2 separate regions of the Homo sapiens genome follow, and region 2 is linked to region 1. The links are contacts of gene promoters, found by promoter capture Hi-C in human tissues and cell types (Jung and others, 2019). All regions are on one chromosome and are shown on one strand. The core of a region is centred on a gene start or on the middle of the fragment in contact, and the rest is flanking DNA. Distances in the headings are between cores, read along the strand shown.

Evidence for each region. The method cuts DNA at HindIII sites, captures the fragments that hold promoters and counts their contacts. A contact is called where the count stands out against the background at its distance.
Region 2: a contact is called between a fragment that was not itself captured here and the fragment with the promoter of PLEKHG3 in region 1, in 2 of the 25 tissues and cell types used here (H1 embryonic stem cells and thymus).

The regions. Positions count from the first base shown.
Region 1 is chr14:64,703,086-64,706,941 of GRCh38, forward strand. It overlaps PLEKHG3 (pleckstrin homology and RhoGEF domain containing G3), which reads left to right and starts at 1,339. Exons shown (of 17, transcript NM_001308147.2): 1 at 1,339-1,619. RefSeq lists an enhancer at 1-119. The HindIII fragment of the contact is 6,175 bases long and covers 1-3,610 here.
Region 2 is chr14:64,788,630-64,792,611 of GRCh38, forward strand. It overlaps SPTB (spectrin beta, erythrocytic), which reads right to left. Exons shown (of 36, transcript NM_001355436.2): 15 at 3,090-3,227. Among named protein-coding and RNA genes, the nearest start is that of MIR7855, 4.9 kb to the left of the region's middle. The HindIII fragment of the contact is 5,305 bases long and covers 1-3,982 here.

The sequences.
Region 1 (3,856 bases), core at 89-2,588:
CCAACTAAGTTGATCTATTTCCGAGCCCCTCTTCTGCAATCTCTGCTCTCACCTTCACGGTCCGCGAGTCTGGGGCTCTGCAAGCCTCCAACACACCCTCCCTCCCTAAGGAATGTGGGCCCCGCTTTCTGGGCCTGCCAGACCGAGCGCCTACCGCTTCCTCCGCAGGCAGGAGCCGGGACGCTGCCTTCACCCCACCCTCCGCCAGGATCCAGTTTCAAAGTCACCTGAAAGCCATTTCCTTCCGCGCCTGCCCCGCCTCTCCCCTCCCAGTAGATCACCTGGAGCTTGCATTTGCCCAGAGCAGCATTTTGGGGCGGGCGCTTGTTTTGTTTTAAATGATACCTCTAGAAATCGTTTGCTGTACACCTGGATAACAAATATACCCCGTGGTTCTAATATCAGCGTCCTATTCCTCCTCCCAAGGAACTAGTGATAGCGCCTAACCAGTGGGCGTTGTTCCTCTTCCGGAGCCCCACTCTGGGCTTCCCTCCTCCGGGCTTGTTGTTCTTCAGGATCTTTACTGATGAATTATTATGGGTTTTTGGATTTATGCTCTTGCTCAAAATGTATTGAATGTCTCTGTCCCCCATCCTCACCCCTTGCCCCCCAGTTTCCAGGTGTGTACCTTTCCATGCATACACGGTCATATACAGAGACATAAAGACAAACGGTTCTCTTTGTTTTATAAAAACGGGTCCTCTATCATCCAGGTTTCTGTGTTTTATTTTTCCTATTTAACAGTTCCTTGTGGAGTTGCCTTCACGTTGTCTCCTTTATCTCTTTCCCGTCAGCTTCTCAGAGGTCTGCATTTACCACTGTAAAGCGTCACAGGGACCGAGTTATGGTGAGGAATTCAAGACATGCCTTTCTGACTTGGAAAAGCGGACACGGCCGGCTCTGGTAGGATTAGGATCCCCAGATCGATCCCGGCTGGTCACTCACTTGGGAAAGCCCTCAGCCCCCTTCGCAGGGCCCGGTGTTCCCTGTCCATACAAGGGGTACGTTCTGGCAGTCCATGCTGTCTCGGGAGGCGGTGATAGCAGGTCTGTGACACCAGGGTGACCCCACCACGTGCGTCTTGGTATCCTAGAGCATCTAGGCTGCCCGGGGGTGCGCGCTCATCACCCTGCGGGCGTTAATCGTTAACCGCGCCCAGGCCTCGCCGCCGCCGCAGCCTTACCCCGGCTCTGGCTCGCCGCGCCGCGAAGGTTGCCCCGGCCCCCGCAGAGCCGCCAATTGCTGGACTGCAGCCGCGAGCTGGAGTCTCCACCCACAGGAAAAATTCCTGGCCCGCCCCTCCCTCGCTCCCTCGCTCCCTCGCTCCCTCGCTCCCTCGCTCCCTCGCTCCCTCGCTCCCTCCTGCCCTCCCGCTGCAGCTCCGGCTCCGCTCGACTTCCTGCCGGGCGCTGGCAAGCCGCGCGCTGCCTGGGGTCTCCGGGGGCCGCGCTTGCAGCTGGCCGAGTCCGGGCCAGCTGAGGGGCTGGCGGTGGGCGGGAGCGGTCGGCGGCCTCAGCCCCTTCAGAGAGCGACTTTCAAACTCGCGCCCGCGTCGCGGCAGCACCTGGGCAGCCCCGCACGCCGTGCGCGTCCCGAGCCCGCGGGGCAGCTACCGCTCGGTGAGTGTCCCCTGATTCTCCTCTCTCCCCTCTTATCTCCCTGCATTAGGCTGAGCGGCGGTGCCGGCAGTCACGCTGGGGCCCCAGTCCCTTCGCGGCCCCCGTGCCAGCCCCCTGCGGGGTGAGGACCGGGGCGACCGAGGAGGGCCTGGAACTGTGTTGGCTGCTTCCCGGGCCACCCTGCCGCAGAGTGCGCGAGCGCAGGAGGGTCGTATGGGGAGACTTTTTCTGTCTTTTTTTCCCTCCACTCCGGAAACAAAAGGGGCAAATGCGCCGGGCGGCTCCAGAGAGGCTCAGTTTGAAATCCAGGAAGCCCGCGAGGCCGCGCGCGCCCGAGGGCTGGTGTTTGGCTGGAGCTGTGGGCCTGGCGGGTGGACCCTTCTGCGCGAGGACCCGAGCCTCGGCTCCTGCCAGCCCCGGAGGCGCCTGCAGCCTGTTCCGGGTTGGCGCCGCACGGTGCTCGCTGTTGGGAATCTCGGCTACCTGTCCGGCAGGGAGGAGAGTGGGGGCCAGAAGCGGGGAGCGGAAAGCCCGGCCACCAGCTGCCTCGACCTCGTCCACTCCTGAAGTCGGTTTGGTTCTTCGCACCCCTACACCCAGCCCTTTGGTTTGGAAAGCCAGTATAAGGCGTGCAAGCTTAAATTTTTAAGGCGTTAAATAGCTACTTTGACTCTTCGGGGCGCCTTTGGAACACAAAAGGAAGAACGGAGGGGAGAATGGAATGGTTGGAGGCTGGAGAGGTGTGGCTTTTGGGGAGGGTGTTGTTAGAGGCCGCGAAAGAGTTTGATCCTCGAGGTCACTCGCTAATCTGTTGGCATATGTAGGTGCCTGTCCCCTGCTCTGGGGGCCCCAGCAGGAGACCCACACTGCGTTCACCTTACGGGGAACCCTGGAGTGGGGGTTCCCAGAGTCTCCCCAGCCGTGCCTCTGCACGCAGCCCAGTCACATGGCCCTTGCTCAAGAAATAATAAGCAGGGAGGGCAATGACAGTCCGGAGCGGGGGAGGGCCTCCCCGTTGAGCACATCGGCCACCTCGCCTTCAGCAGTGTGGTTTTCCGGGCCATCCTTTGTTGGACAAGGATGGGATCCTGAGTGATTAAACCCCAGCTGTTCCCCAGGAGGAAACTAGGGAGTGAGAACCAAAAGTGTACATTTATCTCTCTGTTATACATCTCTCCCCTGTGGTTCCGGGCTGGCCCCCTGGATGCAATGGCCTCACTTCTCCTTTCGACACCTGCTGTCCTCCACTCCCTTCCTGGAAGATAGGACAACCCATTAGCTCCCTGGGTAACTTGCCCTGGGGATGGGGCAGGAAGTTGGGGGAAGAGGTACCCAGAGGCCAAGTCCTAGCTGCTGAGGGAGTGATTTGTTGAAGAGCTGCTTTGGGGGCTTTTCTACTGCCTTTTATTAGAAGTGGCATGGCAGGGGAAGTGGAAAGAGCACTGGCCTGATAGTCCAGCACGGGTTTATGCCTGAGTTTTAGACCTGGCTCTTCTGCATAGCATGGAAGATTGGTAGAGTTGAAGAGTGCGAGTCACTTGGGCTGGGGGGCCCCTTGGATTAGCCTACTTCATTTACTCGTGAAGGCAGCAGAGCCCAGAGGGGTGAGGTGATTTCAGCCTTAGACCCTATTGGCCAAGTAGAAACCAGAGGTCAGATGTCCTCATTGTCTGATCTGTGTTTTCTCCAACATGATCTGGCCAATTCACTTATCTTTTCTGACTCAGTTTCCACATAAATAAAGTGGGATTACTTGCCTGCTCTTCCTCATAGGAGCTGTGGTGAGGATCAAAGGAAGCCTCATTTGTGGAAAGTGCTCCATAAACTCCTGTTAAAACTAAAGGGCTCACAGTGGCTCGGGAGGGAGTCTCCCAAGGGTTTTACAATTTGCTGGCTATGTCCCACGTGTGTGCCACAAGGAGACGTTAGATACCAGGAGCCATTGTTGGATGTTTAAAACACCCTGGTCTTAATATCTCAGCCCCAGAGTAAACATTTGCCTTACCAAATCCGCAGCTATCCCACGGTCACTGTTTACGCTGGAAGAGGCCAAAGGCCACGGCCTGCGGGATGACCAGGGCTGGAGGGGGAAGGCTCCTCTGTTGCAGAGGTATGCCTTGCCCGTTCTCTTCTCCCAGCTCCCAGAACCTTGTGAAGGCTCCAGCTGTAAGCCAGGGGTGCTGCCACAAGCCCAGGCCGCCCTGGCCTTGGAGGGTTAAAAGTGAAGCCCTCTGGCT
Region 2 (3,982 bases), core at 88-2,587, 86 kb after region 1:
GGCTGTGTCCCCAGGCAAGAGGCCCCATAGTGATTTTCCAGGCCTTTCCTGGAGTGGCCTCACTGTAGCCATTGGGTGGAGGCCACACCAAGATGCACTGGAGCTTGGGTCTAGTCTGCTTCCCAAACCTACACTTGCCCCCTCCACTGCACTGTCTTTGAGATGGAGGAGGTTGATAGAGCCACTCTAGTTATCACTGGTCAGGCAACATCAAGAGTCTAGGTTTGGTCCTGGGCCAGGTTTTTCTTCAACTGGAAAGCATACGGTGAAAGATGATCACACATTCATCAAGTGTTTGAATGACTCACACATAAGCTTGGCAGAAAAACCTTAGTTTTTTCCCAGTTCACTCATGTACTAAGCATTTATCAAGCAACTCTCAGTTGCCTTGTGGCAGACACTGACCTAGGCACTAGGGATATGACAAAGAACTATGCAGGCTGGGCTCAGTGGCTCACACCTGTAAATCACAGCAATTTGGGAGGCTGAGGCCGGAGGATCTCTTGAGCCCAGGAGTTCAAGACCAGCCTGAGAAACATAGTGAGACCTCATCTCTACAAAAAAAACAAAAAATTAGCTGGGTATAGTAGTGTGCATCTGTAGCATTAGCTACACAGGAGACTGAGATGGGAGAATCACTTGAGCCTGGGAGGCTGAGGCTGCAGTGAGCCAAAATTGTACCACTGCACTCCAGCCTGGGTAATGGAGTGAGATTCTGTCTCTATAAAAAATTAATTAATTAATTAATAAAGAGTAATGCAAAGTCCTTGCTTTCATTCAAGTGGATAGAGACATAAACAAGTCTATAATCCATCAAGTGGTGATAAGCGCAAAGAAAAAATAAAAGAAGGTAACAATATAGAGGCCAAGTGGGTCAGTGAGAGGAAGGATGTGCTGCTTTCCATGGGGCGGTCAGCGGGGGCCATGCCAGTAAGCTGACATTTGAGCTGAGACCTGAATAAAAAGAGTAAGCCAAGGGCATAGCTAGGAAAATAATACTCTAAACAGCAGGAACCCCAAAAATGTATTAGGTGTGCAAAGCCCTTGGGCAATATAAATAGATACAGGTCTTCATTTGTTTACATAGTCTAGCAGGAAAGTCCTTGGGGACAAAAATAATTAGAATGTAAGATAGGATATGAAGCTCAAAACCAGTACAAAGGAGGAAAAGATTGCTTTTCATCTGGAAAACTGGAAAGCAAGCGACTTGGACTGGCTCATGCAGAGACAGGATTTGGAATATGTAGAGGGAGGGAGAATGCACCCTGAGGGAAAGAACCGCAGAGGCATGAGGCGACACTGGGGGTGGAGGTATAGAATGAGCATTGTTCTGAAAAATAATTGAAGAGCTATACACGGAAGAGGAACCAGGGTAAGTGTGATATCTCTCAAGGGCAGAGCCAGAATCAATATGTACGCATTTCAAGGAGGCAGATTTCCACTCAATGGAAGAGCAAACTTTTTAACCAAAAAGAATTGCCCAAAAATGAGATAGGCTGCCGGGTGAGGGAGTGAGTTCCCCATCACTGGCTAGACTGGGTGACTTCTCAGGTTCCTTTCAACTCTCAAATTTAATTTCATGCCTCGGGTTTTTTTCTCACTTAAGGATGGCAGGTACCTTGATATTTTTCTCTTGGGGATGGGGCCTGTTTTAGGGGTCTGTAAAGATCAACATTCTCAGACTATAGTTTATTGTTGAGCTGATGAGTTCTTCCTCTCAGGAAGTTTCTCTGGTTTAGACCTGCTCTAGTTTCCTCAATTATGCAGCAATTGCAATAATCTCTACCACCTCCTGCCCACCAACACACACAAACTCATTACCTACAAGGCGAAAGAAGAGGGAAGAGGTATTCTCTTCCTTTGTAAAACATCAGATTGACAAAGGAATCTCCTAAACCGCACTCTGCAGCTTGGGCTGCTAAGACAATCATCCCATTCTAGTGGCTCTAAAGAATTCTGGTCATCGCTGCCTCCCCTTAGCCCCCCAGTGAACTCTCCACTGTGCCGATCCCTTTCTTTACAATGGAGTCTTCCCTAGGCCCACCTCCCAGATTGCCTCAGGCAGAGCAACGCTCAGGCACAGGTGTGGGGAAGGGGCTGGGGTAATGGGGAGGTGGTGAACATGTGGCATTGCATGTGCAGGGCCCACGGTAAAGACAGGGAATGCAGGCATTTGCGGTGTCCTCAAAGATCCTCCAGGAACTCATGGGCAATTTCACCCCACACTGAAAGCACCCCCTCTCTAAAGGCTCCTTGGGGCCTATTTTTTGTTCTGGCCACAAAGCTTGCTTAAGGCTCCCTGCTAATTCTCCTCTTCCTTCAAGCCAGCCTCATTATCGATACTGCATTTGGCAGAGGCAGGAGCATTATTTTATGGACAGTACTTAAGAGCTCTCAGAAAGCAATTTTCTCTGCCCAAGAATGTCCAGGGAAATATAGCATGAGAAGCATATGGCCTGATTCTAAGTTTGGGCACACTTGGGATGTGCCCTCCATCACACATACACACCCACCCTCCCCAGGCACAGCATTCGAGCCTCCCAGGACTCGTCTCTCTCCCTCCCTGGGCTGTTCACCACCTCAATCATTCCTCCTTGCTGCTATAGTTCCAGTACTACTGGGAAGGGGACTGTGGCTGAGACAGACAGGAATGTCGGTGGGGGCGCGGTGGCTTATGCCTGTAATCCCAGCACTTTGGGAGGCCGAGGTGGGCAGATCGCTTGAGGCCAGGAATGAGACCAGCCTGGCCAACGTGGTGAAACCACATCTCTACTAAAAATACAAAAACTAGCCAGGCATTGTATCGCACGCCTGTAATCCCAGCTACTTGGGAGGCTGAGGAACAAGAATAGCTTGAACCCAGGAGGTGGAAGTTGCAGTGAGCCGAGATCGCACCACTGCACTCCAGCCTGGGTAAAAGAGTGAGGTTCTGTGTCAAAAAAAAAAAAAAAAAAAAAAAAAAGACAGGAATGTTGAGGGTATAGAAGTGTTGGTGCATACTAGGTGGACTAAATTTTGGGCCCGGCCCCCAGCAGTGTGTCAGATGTTGAGAGACAATGCCCCCGCCCCATGCCCTACCCACACCCCACCTGGTGTTCAGATGGTCCTGGTACTGCTTCACCTCCCTGCTGCGTGGGTGGCCACTCTCTACCAAGCTGTTGGCAGCGAGGTTCACACCATCAATCTGAGTCATCAAGGTCTTCATCTCCTGGTCCAGGATGTCGAACCTGATATGGGCAAAGGAAAATATGAGGATGGGTGAGGCGGCAGCAGACATTTCCTTGCCAGTGGCACCCCCAGTCTCCAGAACATGTAGCTCTTGCTTTCTCCTTCCACTGCCTAAACCATTTGCCCAGGTGAGGCAGGAGGAAGAAAACAGATATGCTGGCCCTCCTTTCTGGTTCATGGGTTTGATTTCATGAGTTAGCATTGCCTGGAACAGGCCGGGAGAGAGCCAGTTACTTCCTACACGGGCTTCTGGCTCAAGAGAGACATATGAAGGGGAGGGAGGGCTGAAGAGAGGTTACTGTGTATTTGTGTGGGGGATGTCAATTGTCACAAGGGCCACCTTCCAGGCCTCTGCTTTTCCGGCTGTTGCTTTTGGACTCTGAGTCCAATGCCTTGACATCTTAACCCAAAAGATACCCTTTCCAGCCAGGTGCTCCATTCCTGGGTAAGATAAGGAAAAGCTGCTGGGGCGGTGGTCGGGGGGAATTTGTGGTTCTGAAGGCCGATCCTTCTAGGGTAAGAGCCCAGGACTCTCCAGCATCAGTGCAGCACCACCTTGGCACTGTTCCAGAGAGCGGCCTCTCCTTCTCCTGACTGCCTGAATTCTGTGCTTCAGCTGCTGAGATGCTGCACAGACTGGGGCATGCCTCATCATCTGGGGTGCTGACAAAATCAGAACACCAGGGGTGAGAGTGGCCTTGCAGACAGGGGGTTTGCAAATTCTCTCTGTGGCCCCTCAGAGTCTCCTGGCTTA